Regions from separate parts of the Homo sapiens genome. Here regions 2, 3, 4 and 5 are each linked to region 1. Evidence: promoter capture Hi-C in human tissues and cell types (Jung and others, 2019). All regions are on one chromosome and are shown on one strand. The core of a region is centred on a gene start or on the middle of the fragment in contact, and the rest is flanking DNA. Distances in the headings are between cores, read along the strand shown. Region 1 holds the start of CIB3 (calcium and integrin binding family member 3). Region 2 holds the start of CYP4F12 (cytochrome P450 family 4 subfamily F member 12). Region 3 holds the start of OR10H1 (olfactory receptor family 10 subfamily H member 1). Region 4 overlaps LOC124900418 (collagen alpha-1(I) chain-like). Region 5 has its middle 26 kb from the start of UCA1.

Region 1 (3,566 bases), core at 623-3,122:
CATGATTGTATCACTGCTCTCCAGCCTGGGTGACAGAGTGAGACCCTGTCTCAAAAAAAAAAAAAAGTCATCCTTGAGGCATCTTTCAAGCCTGATCAGGGTCACATTTTACAAGATGACTGCACAGATTTGGCAGAGGATGCTTGATGAGGCCGAGGCAGGAAAGCCTGCTGGGAAACATTGCAATAGTCCAGGCCAGGTAGAGAAAACACAGGTGAGACCCAAAGTGAGAAGGGCATGGAGGGCCAGGCTAAGAAATTTAGACTCTCAGATTCTCCACCCAAGAGGATTCTGGGCCTTAATAAAGTTGGTAGCTGCTACATTAGATCTGCCCTTTGGGCCGGGCGAGGTGGCTCACACATGTAATTCCAGCACTTTGGGAGGCCGAGGCGGGTGGATCACCTGAGGTCAGGAGTTCGAGACCAGCCTGGCCAACATAGTGAAACTCTGTCTCTACTAAAAATACAAAACTTAGCCAGGCGTGGTGGTGGGCGCCTGTAATAATCCCAGCTACTCGGGAGGCTGAGGCAGGAGAATGGCCTGAACTCGGGAGGTGGAGCTTGCAGTGAGCCGAGATCACGCCACTGCACCCTAGACTGGGTGACAGAGCGAGACTCCGTCTCAAAAAAAAAAAATACAAAAAAAATTAGCTTGGCATGGTGGACACCTGTGGTCCCAGCTACCTGGGATGCTGAGGCAGGAGAATCACTTGAACCTGGGAGGCAGAGATTGCAGTGAACCGAGATCACACCACTGCACTCCAGCCTGGGCAACAGAGTGAGACTGTCTCAAAAAAATAAAATGTAATAAAATAATAATGTCAATGCACACCCCAGAACTTCATCTAGCTTGTTCACCATTATGTTCCCAATGCAGTGATGCAATCATGGCTCACTGCAGCCTCAAACTCCTGGGCTCAAGCAATCCTCCCACCTCAGCCTCCTGAGTAGCTGGGACCACAGGCATGCACCACCACATCCAGCTAATTTTTGTATTTTTAGTAGAGATAGGGCCTTGCCATGCTGCCCAAGCTGATCTTGAACTCCTGGCCTCAAGTGAATCTCATGCTTTGTCCTCCTAAAGTGCTGGGATTACAGGTATGAGCCACCTCGCCCAGCCAAAACCTTTTTTTTTTTTTTGGAGATGGAGTCTTACTCTGTCACCCAGTCTGGAGTGCAATGGCGGGATCTCGGCTCACTGCAACCTCCACCTCCTGGGTTCAAGCAATTCTCCTGCCTCAGTCTCTGGAGTAGCTGGGATTACAGGCATGTGTCACAATGCCAAGCTAATTTTTGTATTTTTAGTAGAGATGGGGTTTTGCCGTGTTGGCCAGGCTGGTCTTGAACTCCTGACCTCAGGTGATCCGCCTGCCTGGCCCTCCCAAAGTGCTGGGATTACAGGTGTGAGCCACCTTGCCCAGTCAAAACCTTTTTTTTTTTTTTTTAAATCTCAGATCCTGAGAATGACCCTATGAGGTAGGTATAATGTAATTTTCATCTCATGAATGAGGTTCAGAGAAGTCAGGTGACTTGCCCAGGGCCACACAGCTAGTGGGCAGAGAGCTGGGATTTGAGCTGCAGTGTGCCCATAGCCCTTCTGTATACCCTGCCTGTCTCTTGAGTGTGCCCCATAACCCCAGCCTCACCTTGTGGTGGCAGATGTGGCCTCCCCACTGAGGTCTTCTCTGTGACATCCCACAGCCCTTATCCTTACCCATGGACACATTCAGGCTGTTGTCCAGAGAGCCTGGCTGTAATTTGAGTCTCATCAAGCAGGGGGTGATGGCGTAGGTGGGTGGGTGACAGCCAGGGCAGGGAGATTTGCCCAGACACTGGTACACAACAGCCTGGCAACCCGTGTGGCCCCGAGGAAGCTGGGAGCCTTTGGGGTGCATCCCCAAGTCTGGGCTGTGGTTCACACCATGGGCAACAAGCAGACAGTCTTCACACACGAGCAGCTGGAAGCGTATCAGGTAGAGGGGGGCAGGATGGGTCCTCAGTGGGTTTGACAACTTTGGTTCCGTGGTCTGGGAAATGGGAACAGAATGCCTTCATCTGGGTGTACCGTCCGCCTGGGTTCCTGGTTCTGCTCTGTGTGTGGCAGCATCAGGCCATCTGTGTGAGTGTGGGGTGGAGGGAGGAGGCCGTGGGAGGAGGCCCCAGAGGCAGGGTTCGGGTTAAGACAACACCTCTCTCCACAGGACTGCACATTTTTCACAAGGAAGGAGATCATGAGGTCAGTCCAGGGAGGAAGGGAGAGAAGATCTGGAAAAACAACTTTCTATTCATTGCTGGAGGATATTTGCAATTTGGTGTGTGTGTGTGTGTGTGTGTGTGTGTGTGTGTGTGTGTGTGTAAGTAGTCTTTCTTTCTTTCTTTCTCTTTTCTCTCTCTCTCTCCCTCCCTCCCTCCCTTCCTTCCTTCCTTCCTTCTTTTCTTTTTTTTTGAGACAGGGTCTGTCTCTATTGCCTGGGCTGGAGTGCAGTGGTGCAATCATGGCTCATTGCAGGCTCGATCTCCCAAGGTCAGGTGATCCTCCCACCTCAGCCTCTCGAGTAGCTAGGACCACTGGTGCGAGCCACCACATGTACCTCATTTTTGTATTTTTTTATAGAGATGGGGCTCTCACTATGTTGCCCAGGCTGGTCTTAAACCCTTGGGCTCAAGCGATCCCCCTGCCTCAGCCTCCCAAAGTGCTGGGATTACAGGTGTGAGCCACCATGCCCAACTGGTATTTCCAATTTGTTGGGACTCAAATGGGGAAGGGGGGCAGGTGTGGTCAGTGGACAGAGGCAGAGATGGAGAAGCTGACAAGTCACATCTTGTCATACTGTCCCAGTCTCTAGGCTGATGAGCTTGGGCTTTCTCCCAAGGGTGGCAGGGAGCTATGGAGCATGCATGAGCAGGGGAGAGACCATCAGCACGTTAGAAAGATTCTCCTGAGGCTGGGCGCGGTGGCTCATGCCTGTAATCCCAGCACTTTGGGAGGACAAGGTGGGTGGATCACCTGAGGTCAGGAGTTTAAGATCAGCCTGGCCAACATGGTGAAACCCCATCTCTGCTAATAATACAAAAATCAGCTGGGCGAGGTGGTGGGTGCCTGTAATCCCAGCTACTCAAGAGGCTGAGGCAGGAGAATTGCTTGAACCTGGGAGGTGGAGGTTGCAGTGAGCCGAGATCACGCCACTGTGCTCCAGCCTGGGTGACAGAGCTAGACTCTGCCTCAGAAAAACAAAATGAAAGATAAAGATTCTCCTGAGACTGGGACTTGAGGCTGGGAGCCCAGGTGCAAAGTCCAGAGCCCAGTCTGGGTTGTGGGCTTGGCATTAAGATGAGGGTGTGAGGAGGTGGCCCAAGGCTGCTGCAGGTCCCTGGCGTGACCCAGCACGATGGGCACAGATGAGTATCCCACATCATCACTCGGCCTGTGGGGCCATTGCCCAGGGGCCCCGACCCATGAACTTGGAGCTATGAAACCCAAGCTGGCCAGGGTTCAGCTGCAGTGTGATCGGGGCCAAGGCCCCAGTTGTGTAGTAACAGGACATCCATTATTGATGGCCACACCTT
Region 2 (3,566 bases), core at 492-2,991, 500 kb after region 1:
GGGAAGACAGGCAGGAAAAGGATCCAAGCAGGCTGAGGTGGGAGGACAGGGAGGTGAGAAAGGTTTGGCATGGAACTGCAGAGGAATGAATGAATGAGGAAAGGAATGAGTCGGTGGGTAGAGGAATCAGTGAATGAGGAGAGGAATGAGTGAGTGAGGAGAGGAATGAGTGAGTGGGGAGAGCAAAAAGTGAGTGGATAGAGGAATAAGTGAATGGGTAGAGGAATGAGTGAGTGGGCAGAGGAATGAGTGAGTGATGAGGGGAAGGAGTGAATGAGGAGAGGAATGAGTGAGCAGAGGAATGAGTGAGTGAGCAGACGAATAAGAGTGAGGAGAGGAATGAGTGAGTGAGGAGAGGAATGAGTGAATGAGAGGAATGCGCGAATGAGAGGAATGCGCGAGTGAGGAGAGGAATGAGTGAGTGAGGAGAGGAATGAGTGAGTGGGTAGAGGAATGAGTGAGTGAGGAGAGGAATGAGTGAGTGGGTAGAGGAATGAGTGAGTGAGGAGAGGAATGAGTGAGGAGGGGAATGAGTGAGTGAGGAGAGGAATGAGTGAGTGAGGAGGGCAATGTGTGAGTGGGTAGAGGAGTGAGTGAGTGGGTAGAGGATTGAGTGAGTGGGTAGAGGAGTGAGTGAGTGGGTAGAGGAATGAGTGAGTGAGGAGAGGAATGAGTGAGTGAGGAGAGGAATGAGTGAGTGAGGAGAGGAGTGAGTGAGTGAGGAAAGGAGTGAGTGAGTGGGTAGAGGAATGAGTGAGTGAGGAGAGGAATGAGTGAGTGAGGAGAGGAGTGAGTGAGTGGGTAGAGGAGTGAGTGAGTGGGTAGAGGAGTGAGTGGGTAGAGGAATGAGTGAGTGGGTAGAGGAATGAGTGAGTGGGTAGAGGAGTGAGTGAGTGGGTAGAGGAGTGAGTGAGTGGGTAGAGGAGTGAGTGGGTAGAGGAATGAGTGAGTTAGCAGAGGAATGAGTGAGCCATCTCTCTTGCTTCTCTGGGGTCGCAGACCCCAGCCACCATCAATACCTAGCTCACTGAGCCCCATTCCTGCTCCTCTGGAAGTCCATCCACCCTGAGACCCCAGACACATTTTGCTGTCACACTCACCAGGCCCAGGTGACCCCAAAACCAGTTCCGTTTTGGGGGCTGTGGGAAACACTGGAGCCGGCGGCAGTTGTTATAGAAGGCATAGGTCCAAGCCAGGATGCGGGCGAGTAGCCAGGAGCCCACAACCAGCAGCAGGAGTAGCCATGGGGACGTTGCCACCGGTCTGAGGCCCAGCCAGGGCAGGCTCAGCAGCGACATCCTGCAGGGCAGAGGGGATGCAGGGTGAGGACCTGAGGCCCAGGGAAGAGCTCCGGGGACAGTGTATAGGGGCGAAGTCAGGAACTGCTGGGGGCAGGGCAGGGAGGGCTCAGGGGTGAGTAAACGAGGGCTGAGATCTGAAGTCCAGAAAGTCCCAACCAAAACCAACAACTAAGTGGCCTCCAGTAACCTGGTAACCACACAGAAAGGGAAAGAGATGGGCCGATTAGAGTCCAGAAGGGCCCCACCTGAATCCTTGGGAGTTTGCTAGGAGTCCAGTTACCAGGAAACCCCCAGTTTCCCATGCCAGCATCTTGGAGCCACCCCAGCCTTAGGCAGTCCCCTCTTCATCCCAGGCCAGGACCTTCCAGCCCTGCCACCCCCAGCCTGGTACCTTCTGTCGGGAGCAGCTTGTCCCACACAACCTCTTCTCCTCTTCTGCTGGGAGGTCTTTGGCCCTGGCCCCTGATCTAGGGAAGGCCGTAGGAGGCGGGGCTGGGCTGGGCTGGGCTGAGGCAGCCAATCCCCACAGCCTGGGTGTGTCTTCCGTGCCTGGGCAGCCAGCCAAAACCTGGGGTTGGGCCCACTGGGTGCAGCTCAGGGTGCCCCAGCACGAGCACTGAATTCTCAGGTCTCAGTACCTTCTTGGGAGTTTGCAGGGGAAGTTGGAGGGTGGTTAGAGGGGACTCTGAACCCCAAGTTTACCTCCACCCTGCCCTTCCAAGACAAGGGTGTTCAGATAAAAGCATATACTTATCATGACAGTTGGCAGCCAGCTGAGCTGGGCCAGGCCAACCCTTGTCCCAGATCATCTGGGCTCCTCTCCAAACATGGGCGGGGAGGATGTCAGGCACTACATCTTGGTGCAGACTTAGGAGATTCAGAGACAGAAGCCTCTCATCTCTGGCTTCACAGCCTGGCAAGAGTTCAAGTCCTGCCTCCTGGCAGCCCAGGGCCTGAGTTGAGGCCTGACTGCTTGAAGCAGGAAGAAAGAATCCAGCCCCAACCCCGCTGAGGATTACCTTCGTCAGATTCTGGGGATAAAGAGCCCAGCTGGAGGAGCAAACCTAGAAGCTGGGCTCAGCTTAGGAGGACAGAGCGGAGGCACAGGGGATGAGGCTGAGAGGGGCCTTGAGCTGACGGGGTCCAGGCAGGGGAGGGCAGAGCAAGGGGATCCCGAGTGGAGTCCTTGTTCTGCCCTGTCCTTTCTCTGACTGTGGGCAGTGTGGCCATCCTGGGCTCAGGCTTCCCATCTGGGAAATGGGATGTCAGATGAGGCCTTAGAGGGCGACGGAGGAAGGCTCCTAAGAAAAGGGAGCTCCAAAAAGAGGGACTGAAGGGAAGGGGATGACAACTAGCACTTGAGCTGCTGTGTGCCTGTCTCTACTCCATGCGAAAGACTGTACGGAAAGCACTACTGTGTGCACCTACTGTGTGCCAGTTTCACTATATAAAGTGCACTTACTGTGTATCAGATACTGTACATAAATTCTGTCTACTATGTGCCAGGTATGCCACATAAAGCTCACCTACTGTGTGCAGCATGCTGTACATAATGTAAGCTTACTTTATGCAGAGTACTTCATATAAAGCGTGCCTACTCTGTGCCATGTGCTGTATATAAAGCATACCTACTGTGTGTCAGGTGCTCCACATTGAGCATGTGTACTACGTACCTGGTGACCCACAGAAAGCGCACCTACTCTGCATCAAGTAATCTACATAAATCTTGTCTACTGTGTGCTGGCTATTCTACATATAGTGCACCTACTGTGTGCCAGGAGCTCCACATAAATACTGTCTACTGTATGCTGGGAGCCCTTCACAAATCCTGTATCTTGAGTCCCTGGCCCTTTATATAAACCATGCTTGCTGTGTGCCAGGTGCTCTAAATAAAGCACACCTACTGTGTGCCAGATGTTCCACATAAAATGCTTCTCCCGTGTGTTAGGTCCCCTACATAAAGTAAAACTACTCGGTGCAACATACTTGACATAAAGCACACATACTGTGTGCCAGGTACACTATATAAAGTGTGCCTTATTGTGTGCCAGATATGCTACATAAAGAGCACCTACTGTGTGCCAGGTATGCCGCATAAAGTGTACCTACTATGTGCTAGGTACGCCACATAAAGTACACCTACTGTGTGCCAGGTGCTCTACATAAGGTGCACCTACTATGTGCCAGGTGCTCTATATAACGTGCACCTGCTTGTATCAGATGCTCACCTGCATCACAGTGCCCAAAGCTGTCCCACCACCCTCC
Region 3 (3,566 bases), core at 281-2,780, 360 kb after region 1:
TACTGTGAACAGTGCTGCTATGCACATTTGATGTCCAAGGATTTGTTTGAATCCTTTTCCATTCTTTTGGGTGTATACCTAGGAGTGAAATTGCTGAGTCCTTTGATAATTTCTATGTTAACTTTTTGATAAACTGTCAAACCATTTTGTGTGTTTTTAAAATGCAGATCTGATTCTCCCGTAGATATCTTTCCGTAACTTGGTTTTTCACTCAGCGTCTTAGAGTGAACTCTGTGTGAGTTTATGCAGACCAAAGTTTCTCAGTCTTGGCAATGTCGACATTTTTGTGTTGACAAAATGGCTGGAGTGCCGTGGCTACTCACAGGGGCAATCATAATGCATCGTTATATATAGTAGTATATAGTCCCATTTATATGAAATGTCTAGAATAGGTAAGTCCATAGAGCCAGAGCCAGAAAACAAATTGGTGGTTTTGAAGGACTGGGTGGGGTAGGGGAGTGGCTGCTAATGGGTATTAGGTGATGAAAACATTTTGGAACTAGACAGAGGCGGCGGCCACACAACATTGTGAATGCATTCAATCCCAGGGAATTGTATACTTTAAAGTGGTTGATTATTTTATGTGAATTTCACCTCAAAAGCAGAACGAAGCGAAAGCAACAATAATGCACAACAGAACTCTGATTTTATGGGTTTGCATTGTTTTCACATCCTACATGCTCATGAAGATCTGAAGGGATACCCATTAAATTCACCGTCACGATTGCCTGGCTGGCCATTGCATGGTTTGCTGCTTTGTATGTAGCATTTCAATTACATAATAAGAAGAAACAGGCCAGGCATGGTGGCTCACAGCTGTAATCCCAGCACTTTGAGAGGTCAAGGTGGGAGGATCCCTTGAGCCAAGGAGCTCAAGACCAGCCTGGGCAACAAAGCGAGACCCCATCTCTACAGAAAAATTAAAACTTAGCCCAGGTGTGGTGGCAAGCACCTTTACTCCCAGCTGCTCAGGAGGCTGAGGCAGGAGAATCATTTGAGCCTGGGAGGTTGAGGCTGCAGTGAGCCATAATCACACCACTGCACTCCAGCCTGGGCAACAGAGCTAGACCCTGTCTCAAAAAATAAAAATAAAAACAAATACGTGTGTGTGTGTTGGTTTTAAAAAATTATTTTAAAGGACATTTAGTTGGGCAAATGACCCAGTTGGAGAAGAATGAAGGTGACGGGGCATATCAAGGCAGCCTCTGCAGTCCCTGGGGGCAATGGCAGGGCTGCCCTCCTGTCAATTTCAACAGTCATGGGCCCAAACCCCAAATCTGTAGAGCACTAGACTCTGCTCAAGCTCTTGACAAGCTCAGGGAATTGACTCACCCCTGGCAGGCGGGGGGAATGGGAAAGTGAGGATACAGATTCCCTGAGGTTGCCTCCTCTCTGGCAGGGTCCCTGGGGTCCCAGCATCCCTGTAGCGGAGACAGAGACAGTAGGACCACAGCGAGGGAAGCCGGTGGGCAGGGAGTCAGGGAGGGATAAATAATCGCATTTGGGCTCAGTCAAGCCCCCGGCTCAGCTGGTGTGGCTGCTTGGTGCAGCCCACACCTGGTCAGCTCCCACCTGTGGAGAAACTCCAAACTAGAGCCTCCTACTGGGATGAAGCAGAAGCAGATGCCTGGAGTCCCAGGTGAGTCACCTCCCCTCTCAGCCACCTGACCAGGAGAGACCTGGGGAACCAGCACCTGCCAGGGACTCCAAGAAACCACCTGTTTATATTACTCCTTTAGCAATGTGAGTCTACAGGGCAGTGGGTGACAGGCAGAGGCCACTCACCACGTCTTAGTCAGTGTGCTGTTTGCTTAGCAGGACTTACCTTCTTCTATTTTTTTTTTTTTTTTTTTGAGACGGAATCTCGCTCTGTAGCCCAGGCTGGAGTGCAGTGGCGCAATCTCGGCTCACTGCAACCTCCGCCTGCCAGGTTCAAGCGATTCTTCTCCCTCAGCCTCCTGAGTAGCTGGGACTACAGGTGCGTGCCACCATGCCTGGCTAATTTTTTGTATTTTTAGTAGAGACAGGGGTTTCACCATGCTGGACAGGCTGGTCTTGAACTCCTGATCTCGTGATCCACCCGCCTCGGCTTCCCAAAGTACTGGGATTACAGGCATGAGCCATCGTGCCCAGCCAGGACTTGCCTTCTTTAGAGCTCCTGCTGCCTCATGAGGTAGGTCCCTTGGATGGGGGAGGTAACAGGTGCAGAGAGAAGACAGCCAATGCTCAATGTGACCCAAGGTGATGGTTTGATTTTAACCTCTCTTCTCGGTCTGTCCAGGCAAGAAGTCTACGGAAAAAGGATTGGGAAGAGGCGGAGAAAAGAGAGAAAGAGGATTCAGGGTTCAGAAGCTCCAGCCACCACCCCAGGGTGTAAAGAATCAGGGTGGGCCGGGTGCAGTGGCTCATGCCTGCAATCCCAGCACTTTGGGAGGCCAAGGTGGGAGGATCACTTGAGTCCAAGAGTTTGAGGCCAGCCTGGGCAGCATAGTGAGACCCTGTCTGTACAAAAAAATACAAAAATTGGCCAGGAATGGCAGGCACCTGTAGCTACTCCAGAGATTGAGGTGGGAGGATTGCTTGAGCCCAGGAAGTTAAGGCTGCAGTGAGCTGTGATTGTGCCTCTGCACTCCAGCCTGGGTGACAGAGGGATACCCTGTCTCTCTCTCTCTCTCTCTCTCTCTCTCTCTCTCTCTCTCTCTCTCTCTCTCTCACACACACACACACACACACACACACACACACACAAGGGAGGCGTCAATGGGAGCAGGTGGTGAGGGAATGGTTAGGAGCTGGGGATGAGAAGATGGAGAGAAAAGAGAGGGAAGTGGTGGCTTAAGTGGAAGAGAGGGGAGGCCAGACAGCTTCACTAAGAAGAGAGAGCCAGGATGGGTGAGAGTTAAGGCCAGATGGGGTCTCAGAGACAAGACAGGCCTGGCCCATGGAGTGATGCTGTCACCCAGGAGACACGTGACAACGTATAAGGACATTTCTGATTGTCGTGACTGGGGAGTGCTGCTGGTATCTATCTGGTGGGTGGAGACCAAGAATGCTGCTCAGTCTCCTGCAGTGCACAGGACACCCCTCTGAGAGAGAATGATTCGCCCCTAGCGTCCCTAATGCTGAAGGCAGGAAACCCTGCTCTAGGGATGTCTGTGGCAGGACTTGTCCACAGCCACGCTTAGCCCTAGAGTCTCTGAGTGGAGAACTGGCCCCACCGGGTGTTCCTGTCAGTGCTAGACAGTGGGCTTGCTTGCTCTCTCTCTTTCTTCTCACCTTTTTCTTCTCTTTCCCCTCTGTCCTCTCTTTCTCCCTACCTCTCTTTCCTCTCTCTGTTTCTCTTCCCACCTCCCTCTCTCTCCACTTCTCTCTCTCTCCCCACCCTTCTCTCTGTCTCTCTCTCTCTTTCCCCAACCCTCTCTCTCCCCACCTCCCACACTCTCTGTGTCTCTCTCCCCACTTCTCTCTCCCCACCTCTCTCTGTGTCTTTCTCCCTGTCCTTCTCTCTCTCTCTCCCCCCACCTCCCACTCTCTATCTCCCCACTTCTCTCTCTCCCTCCATCTCT
Region 4 (3,566 bases), core at 508-3,007, 340 kb after region 1:
CCCCATTTTCCATCATACGAATAGTATTCCCTGTTGCTAAGCCGATGATACATTACCCTTTTCCCATAGGTGTGAGTGGCGGTCTGAATGGAGAAGTTCAATAGTTCTGATTGCAGATCCTATGCAGAAGAGATAATAAGGAAAATAATCTTTGTCTCCTGGATTAAGCTGAGGCTGGCAAAGAGTGAAATGTCCCAAGCCCTCTAACAACAAACAACATACTTTGTGTTGTCCTGGATGCTGGTCTGGTTGCCAAATATGTGGAACTGGCCCCATATGCGTGTACTGTTGTCCATTTCATGAGAGTAGGCTTGAGGACACCATGGGCAAGGATCTGATGGTTGCCAGCCTAAGCGTTTTAGACTTTTGACCCAGAGATTTTTTGTTTTGGGTGTGGAAAAAATTTTAGAGGATAGGGTCTCAAGATATAATCCTTTTTATAGGCGGCAGGTCTTAAGAGATGAGGGTCCAGAGGAACGGATGAAGCCTGCTTGGAAGCATGCTGGGATGGCCATTTGGAAGGAGTGTTGCAAGGAAGCATGGCCTTGGCTGGGCGCTGCCAGGAGCTTAAGGGTTGTAGGTTGTTTGTCTGATCGGCTCTCGGCCTAATCTTGTGGCTTCCAGGAGGAAGAGGAGAGATCAAGCTGGCTGTCTGATGGGCATGGCTTTATTCTGGAATGGTGAACCCAATGGAGAGGGTCCTGCAGATGGACGGCAGTTGGTGTGCTATAAATGACCGGGTAGGGTCTGGTCCATTGAGGCTGTAGAGTTTGAGGGGTCAGACTTTTGACAAGGACTGATCGTCCAGCTAGGGTGTCTTCATATGGCTGGGAATCTGGAGTAGGCAAGAGAAGATTAGCAGCTTGGCAAATTTCCTGTCTAGCCTGCTAGAGGACTGGAAGATAGTTGCCCAGGGGGCTGGTGTCTGGAACAAGATTGTGGCTGAGTAAGAAGGTGCATCCATATAAAATTGAAATGGGTTGTACCCTGTGGCTTCTCAAGGACAGGCCCTAATTCTGAGGAGGGCAAGTGGTAAAAGTACTGTCCAGTCCTTTTTAAGTTGGAGGCTGAGCTTGGTGAGGTGTGTTTTTAAAAGACCATTCATCCGTTCTACCTTTCCTGAAGATTGAGGACGGTAGGGGGTATGAAGTTTCCACTGAATACCAAGAGCCTGAGAAACTGTGGAAGTAGGGAGGCCAAATTGGGGGATTATATCTGTCAGAAGGGAAGAAATGACTGTAGTAGCCTTTCAGAGCTAGTGGGAAAGGCCTCGACCCATCCGGTGAAGGTATTGGCCCAAACCAGGAGATATTTAAATTTACAGACACGCGGCATATGAATAAAGTCAATTTGCCAATCTTGTGTCGGAGGAAATCCATGAGCCTGATGCGTAGGAAAAGGAGGAGGCCTGAGAAGACCTCGGGGGTTGGTGGCATGGCAGACAGAGCATTGAGAGGTGATGGTTTTAAGGATGGATTTCCATGATGGGATGGAAATGAGGGGCTGTAGGAGGCCAGCCAGAGGCTTATATCCTATATGGAAATGGTCATGAAGGGAAGAGAGAGTAGACTGGGCTTGTGAGGCAGGAAGAACGAATTTTCCATGATCTAAGAACCACTTGCCCTGAGTTGGAAAAGACTGGTAGAGCAGGTTTTTTAGAAGAGGAGTAGGTGGGGGTGATAGAGAAGAAAGAAAAGTACTAGCCTTTTGGGGTGAGGGCTAGAATATTTGCAGGCGTGGAGGCATTTGCTGTTTCTTTTGCTGTCCTGTTGGCGTAGGCATTTCCTTTAGCAATAAGATCAGTTGGTTTCTGGTGTCCTTTACAATGAATGAACCCAGCTTTGGCCAGCAAGAGAGCAGCATTAAGGAGGGCCTTTATTAGAGAGGTATTGATAATGGAAGAGCCTTGTGTGGTGAGAAAACCTCTTTCAGTCCAAAGGGTAGCATGGTTGTGGAGGATGTGGAAAGCATATTAGGAGTCAATATAAATTTTAATGTGCATTCCTTTGGCGACAGAGAGTGCACAAGTTAAAGCAATCAGTTTGGCTTGTTGGGAAGTAGTGGAGGGAGGAAGTGCAGCAGCCTCAATAATAGAGGTATGGGACACGACAGCATAACCAGCTTTAGCTGGCGAGATTTGACTGGGTTTAGAGGAACTGCCATGAATAAACCAAGTGTGGTCTGGATTTGGGATTGGAAAAATAGAAATATGAGGAAAGGGGGAAGATGCTATGTGTATTAGGGAGATACAATCATGTTGGCCAGGACTTGTGTTGGGTGCTAAGTGAGAAGCTGGGTTGAAATCGGGCCCATGGGCAGTAGTTATTGTTGGGGTTTCAATAAAGAGTGAATAGAGCTGGAGATGTCGAGGGGCAGACAGCAAGTGTGAAAGGTGTGAGGAGGATATTAATGCTTGAAGGTTGTGAGAACTGTAGAGGGTAAGTGGAGCATAGCCTGTGATTTTGAGAGACTCTGGAAGTGTTAAAGCGGCAGCTGCCACCACATGTAGACATGAGGGCCAGCCTAGAATTGTGAGGTCAAGTTGTTTGGATAGAAAGGCTATAGGTCGTGGGCCTGGCTCCTGTGTGAGAACTCCAGCAGCACAGCCTTGTGTTTCAGCTGTGTGTAAGGAAAAAGGTTGGGACAAGTCAGGGAGTGCTAGTGTGGGAGCTGTTTCTAGGGCCTTTTTGAGAGAATGAAAGGAAGCATGGGGAAAGGACTTATGGTCTATGGGATCAGCTAAATTACCTTTAGTGAGTTTGTAAAGCAGTTTGGTTAGAATGGCAAAACCTTGGTACCCAGAGTCGGAAGTATCCAACAACGCCTAAGAAGGAAAGGAGTTGTTGTTTGGTGGTGGGGAATAGGGTCTGGGAGATTAACTGAACACAGTCTGCAGGAAGAGTGCGTGTATGTTGATGGAGGACTATGTCGAGATATGTAACACTAGGGGAGGAAATATGAGCTTTAGAGGGGGATACTCAGTACCCCTTTGAGTAGAGATATTGAAGAAGTAGGATAGGATAGTGTCCTGCTGGGAAGATTGGTAAGAAGGGCTGCAAAGAAGAAGGTCTTCAACATATTGAATAAGGTGGGAGGCAGATGGGCAGAAAGAAAGTCATGAGAGAGGGCCTGACCAAAGTAGTGTGGGCTGTCCCTGAAACTTTGGGGTCGGACAATCCAGGTGAATTGCTGGGACTGGTGGGTGTCAGGGTCAGTCCAAGTAAAGGTGAAAAGAGGTTGGGAGGAGGGATGCAAGGGGATGGTAAAGAAGGCATCTTTGAGGTGGATAACAGAATAATGAGTTGTGGAAGGGGGTGTCGAGGAGAGGAGAGTATAGGGTTTGGCACAACAGGATGGATGGGAAGGACAATCTGATTTATGAGGTGAAGGTCTTGAACTAGCCTCTAGGACTTGTCCGGTTTCTGGATGGGTAGGATAGGGGAGTTGTAAGGAGAATTTGTAGGCTTCAAAAGGCCACGTTGTAACAGGCAAGTGATAACAGGCTTCAGTTCCCTTTAAAGCCTGCTGCGGGCTGGGATACTGGTATTGAGCAGGGTAAGGGTGAT
Region 5 (3,566 bases), core at 399-2,898, 320 kb after region 1:
TGCAAAAGTTATTGTGGTTTTACCACTATAGAAAACAGTGTGGAGATTCCTTAAAGAACTGAAAATAGGGCCGGACACGGTGGCTCACGCCTGTAATCCCAGCACTTTGGGAGGTGGAGGCAGGTGGATCACCTGAGGTCAGGTGGTACTTGGTTACATGAGTAGGTTATTTAGTGGTGATTTGTGAGATTTTGTGCACCCATCACCTGAGCAGTATACACTGAACCTAATTTTATCCCTCACCCCTTCCCACCCTTTACCCCCAAGTTCCCAAAGTCCATTGTGTCATTATTATGTCTTTGCATCCTCATAGCTTAGCTCCCACTTATGAGAGAACATACGATGTTTGGTTTTCCATTCCTGAGTTACTTCACTTAGAATAATGGTCTCCAATTCCATCCAGGTTGCTGCAAATGCCATTAATACATTCCTTTTTATGGCTGAGTAGCATTCCACTGTGTGTGCATATATACATACATATACACATATATACATATGTATGTATGTGTATATATACACACGTGTATATATGTATATGTGTATATATACACACGTGTATATATGTGTATATATATACACACATATTATATATGTATATATGTATATATACACACATGTATATATGTACACATACACACATATGTGTATGTGTATATATATCTCACAGTATACATATGTGTATATATTATATATGTGTGTATATATGTGTATATATATATCTCACAGTATATATATATCTCACAGTATATATCTATCTCACAGTTTCTTTATCCACTCATTGATTGATGGGCGTTTGGGCTGGTTCCATATTTTTGCAATAGTGAGTTGTGCTGCTATAAAAGTGCTTGTGCAAATATCTTTTTCGTATAATGACTTCTATTCCTCTGGGTAGATACCCAGTAGTGGGATTGGTAGATCAGATGGTAGTTCTATTTTTAGTTCTTTTTTTTCTTTTCTTTTCTTTTTGAGACAGAGTTTTGCTCTTGGTGCCCGGGCTGGAGTACAATGGTGTGATCTCGGCTCACCGCAACCTTCGCCTCCCAGCTTCAAGCAATTCTCCTGCTGCAGCCTCCCGAGTAGCTGAGATTACAGGCATGTGCCACCATGCCCAGCTAATTTTGTATTTTTAGTAGAGACGGGATTTCTCCATGTTGGTCAGGCTGGTCTCGAACTCCTGACCTCCGGTGATCCACCCGCCTTGGCTTCTCAAAGTGCTGGGATTACAGGCGTGAGCCACCGTGTCCGGCCCTATTTTCAGTTCTTTAAGGAATCTCCACACTGTTTTCTATAGTGGTAAAACCACGATAACTTTTGCACCAACCTAATACATAGTAGATCTGAGATTCAAAGTCAAGATTCAAGGGCAGTGAATTCCCTGCCTGCCTCTGTCTGCCTGCCCATCTAACTGTGATCTCTGCAACTTACTCCTCTCGCCCTCTGTACACCCCTGCCTCCATCCTTTCAGCTTCCAAGGAATTCCACCTCCCAAATGTAACTTCTTCCTTCCAGGACTTCCTGACATCAACTAACCAGGCGACATCCTGGATAGGCCTCTTCAAAGATGGCCAAGGAAGTGCCCACAGGTGGATGGATGGCTCAGCCCCCACCTACATGTGAGTATCTCCTTTGACACCAAAGATAGTCTCCCCTAAGAGGCAGGCATGGCTTTCAGGCAGTAAGTTATGACCACTGTAGGTGTTTCTCTTTCATTCATTCACAATGAAGTACCCGTAGTAGCTCCCAAACTGCCTGATATCCTTTCTGTTTTTTGTTTTTTTTAAGATGGAGTTTCACTCTTGTTGCCCAGGCTGGAGTGCAGTGGTGCGATCTTGGCTCGCTGCCACCTCTGCCTCCTGGGTTCAAGCGATTCTCCTGCCTCAGCTTTCTGAGTAGCTGGCATTACAGGCACCTGCCACCACACCCAGCTAATTTTTTGTATTTTTAGTAGAGACGGGGTTTCATCATGTTGGCCAGGCTGGTCTCAAACTCCTGACCTCAGGGGATTCGCCGGCCTCGGCCTCCCAAAGTGCTGGGATTACAGGCGTGAGCCACCGCGCACAGCCGACATCTTTTCTATTATCCTAGTTATAGTTATTTTGTTACTTGACAAGAGTGTTCCCAGTTTGGTGCTTGAGAAATTATGGGTTCAATGTCAAACTCTTTTTTTTTAAATTTAAATATACTTTATTGATAAAAAGTGCTAACAATCATCTGAGCCTTCAGAGAGAGTCATAATCTTTTTTAAATTTTATTTGAATTTTAATTTCTGGGGTACACGTGCAGGATATGCAGGTTGGTTACATAGGTAAATGTGTGCGATGATTGTTTGCTGCACCTATCAACTCATCACCTAGATATTAAACCCAGCATGCATTAGCTATTTTTCCTAATGCTCTCCCTCCCCCAACCCCACCTCCTGACAGGCCTCACTGTGTGTTGTTCCCCTCCCTGTGTCCATGTGTTCTCATTGTTTGGCTCCCACTTATAAGTGAGAACACGCTGTGTTTGGTTTTCTGTTCCTGCATTAGTTCACTGAAAATAATGGCTTCCAGCTCCATCTATATCCCTGTAAAGGACACGATCTCGTTCCTTTTTACGATTGCATAGTGTTCCATGGTGTATACGTACCACATTTTCTTTATCCAGTCTATCATGGATGGTCATTTGGGTTAATTCCATGTCTTAAATAGTGCTTCAATGAACACAGGCGTGCATGTATCCTTGTAACAGAATGATTTATACTCCTCTGGGCATATACCCAGTAATGGGATTGCTGGGTCAAATGATATTTCTGGTTCTAGATCTTTGAGGAATTCCACAATGGTTGAATTAATTTACATTCCCACCAACAGCGTAAAAGCATTCCCGTTTCTCTGCAACCTTGCCAGCACCTGTTGTCAAACTGCTTTCTTTGTTGCAGGACTTTTCAGAGCCCTGAATGTGCTAATGAGCACTAAGCCTACTCAGAAGGAGTGAAACAATGTAGCATTTGCCAACTGTATGACTTTCCCATGGCTGCCATAGCAAAGTACTGCAAACTGGGTGGCTTAAAACAACAGAAATGTGTTCTTTCACCGTTCTGGAGGCCAGAGGTTTCCAGTCAAAATGTCGGTAGGGCCATGCCCCTTCCAAAGGGTCTGAGGAAGAATCTTTCCCTGTGTTTTCCAGCTTCTGGTGGCTCCAGGCATTCCTTGGCTTGCGGCGGCATCACTCCACTGTCTGCCTCTGTCTTCTCACGGCCTTCTCCTCACCTCTGTGTCTCCTTTTTTCTGTCTGTTATAAGGACACTCAACATTGGATTTAGGGCCCACCTGACAAACCCAGGATGATCTCATCTTGAGAGCTTTCATTTAATTACAGCTGTAAAGACCCCCTTTCCAAGTAAAGTCACATGCACAGGTGTTAGGGGGTTGGACATGGCATATATTTTTGGAGAGGACACTTTAATTCACTATACCTCTTGGCATTGTCTTGCATCCTCACACTGTATGCCTTTTTCTGCGACATTTCCTACCTCCTGCATCACCTTCCCTGACTGGCAAGCTGCTCTGCATGGGGCCAAGCTT

Evidence for each region. The method cuts DNA at HindIII sites, captures the fragments that hold promoters and counts their contacts. A contact is called where the count stands out against the background at its distance.
Region 2: a contact is called between the fragment with the promoter of CYP4F12 here and the fragment with the promoter of CIB3 in region 1, in 2 of the 25 tissues and cell types used here (small bowel and spleen).
Region 3: the fragment with the promoter of OR10H1 here is called in contact with the fragment with the promoter of CIB3 in region 1 in 1 of the 25 tissues and cell types used here (stomach).
Region 4: a contact is called between a fragment that was not itself captured here and the fragment with the promoter of CIB3 in region 1, in 2 of the 25 tissues and cell types used here (dorsolateral prefrontal cortex and spleen).
Region 5: a contact is called between a fragment that was not itself captured here and the fragment with the promoter of CIB3 in region 1, in 2 of the 25 tissues and cell types used here (stomach and thymus).

What each region holds. Positions count from the first base shown.
Region 1 is chr19:16,171,831-16,175,396 of GRCh38, reverse strand. CIB3 (calcium and integrin binding family member 3) reads left to right here and starts at 1,872. Exons shown (of 6, transcript NM_054113.4): 1 at 1,872-1,972; 2 at 2,201-2,235. The coding sequence starts at 1,922. The HindIII fragment of the contact is 31,728 bases long and covers 1-3,566 here.
Region 2 is chr19:15,671,262-15,674,827 of GRCh38, reverse strand. It overlaps CYP4F12 (cytochrome P450 family 4 subfamily F member 12), which reads right to left and starts at 1,741. Exons shown (of 13, transcript NM_023944.4): 1 at 1,693-1,741; 2 at 1,101-1,299. The coding sequence starts at 1,298. The HindIII fragment of the contact is 17,744 bases long and covers 1-3,566 here.
Region 3 is chr19:15,813,628-15,817,193 of GRCh38, reverse strand. OR10H1 (olfactory receptor family 10 subfamily H member 1) reads left to right here and starts at 1,530. Exons shown (of 4, transcript NM_013940.4): 1 at 1,530-1,639. The HindIII fragment of the contact is 22,557 bases long and covers 1-3,566 here.
Region 4 is chr19:15,831,771-15,835,336 of GRCh38, reverse strand. LOC124900418 (collagen alpha-1(I) chain-like) reads right to left here. Exons shown (of 3, transcript XM_047439793.1): 3 at 1-119. UCA1 (urothelial cancer associated 1) reads right to left here. Exons shown (of 3, transcript NR_015379.3): 3 at 1-835. Among named protein-coding and RNA genes, the nearest start is that of UCA1, 4.6 kb to the right of the region's middle. RefSeq lists an enhancer at 1-399. The HindIII fragment of the contact is 5,632 bases long and covers 1-3,566 here.
Region 5 is chr19:15,852,780-15,856,345 of GRCh38, reverse strand. It overlaps the pseudogene CLEC4OP. Among named protein-coding and RNA genes, the nearest start is that of UCA1, 26 kb to the right of the region's middle. The HindIII fragment of the contact is 7,299 bases long and covers 1-3,566 here.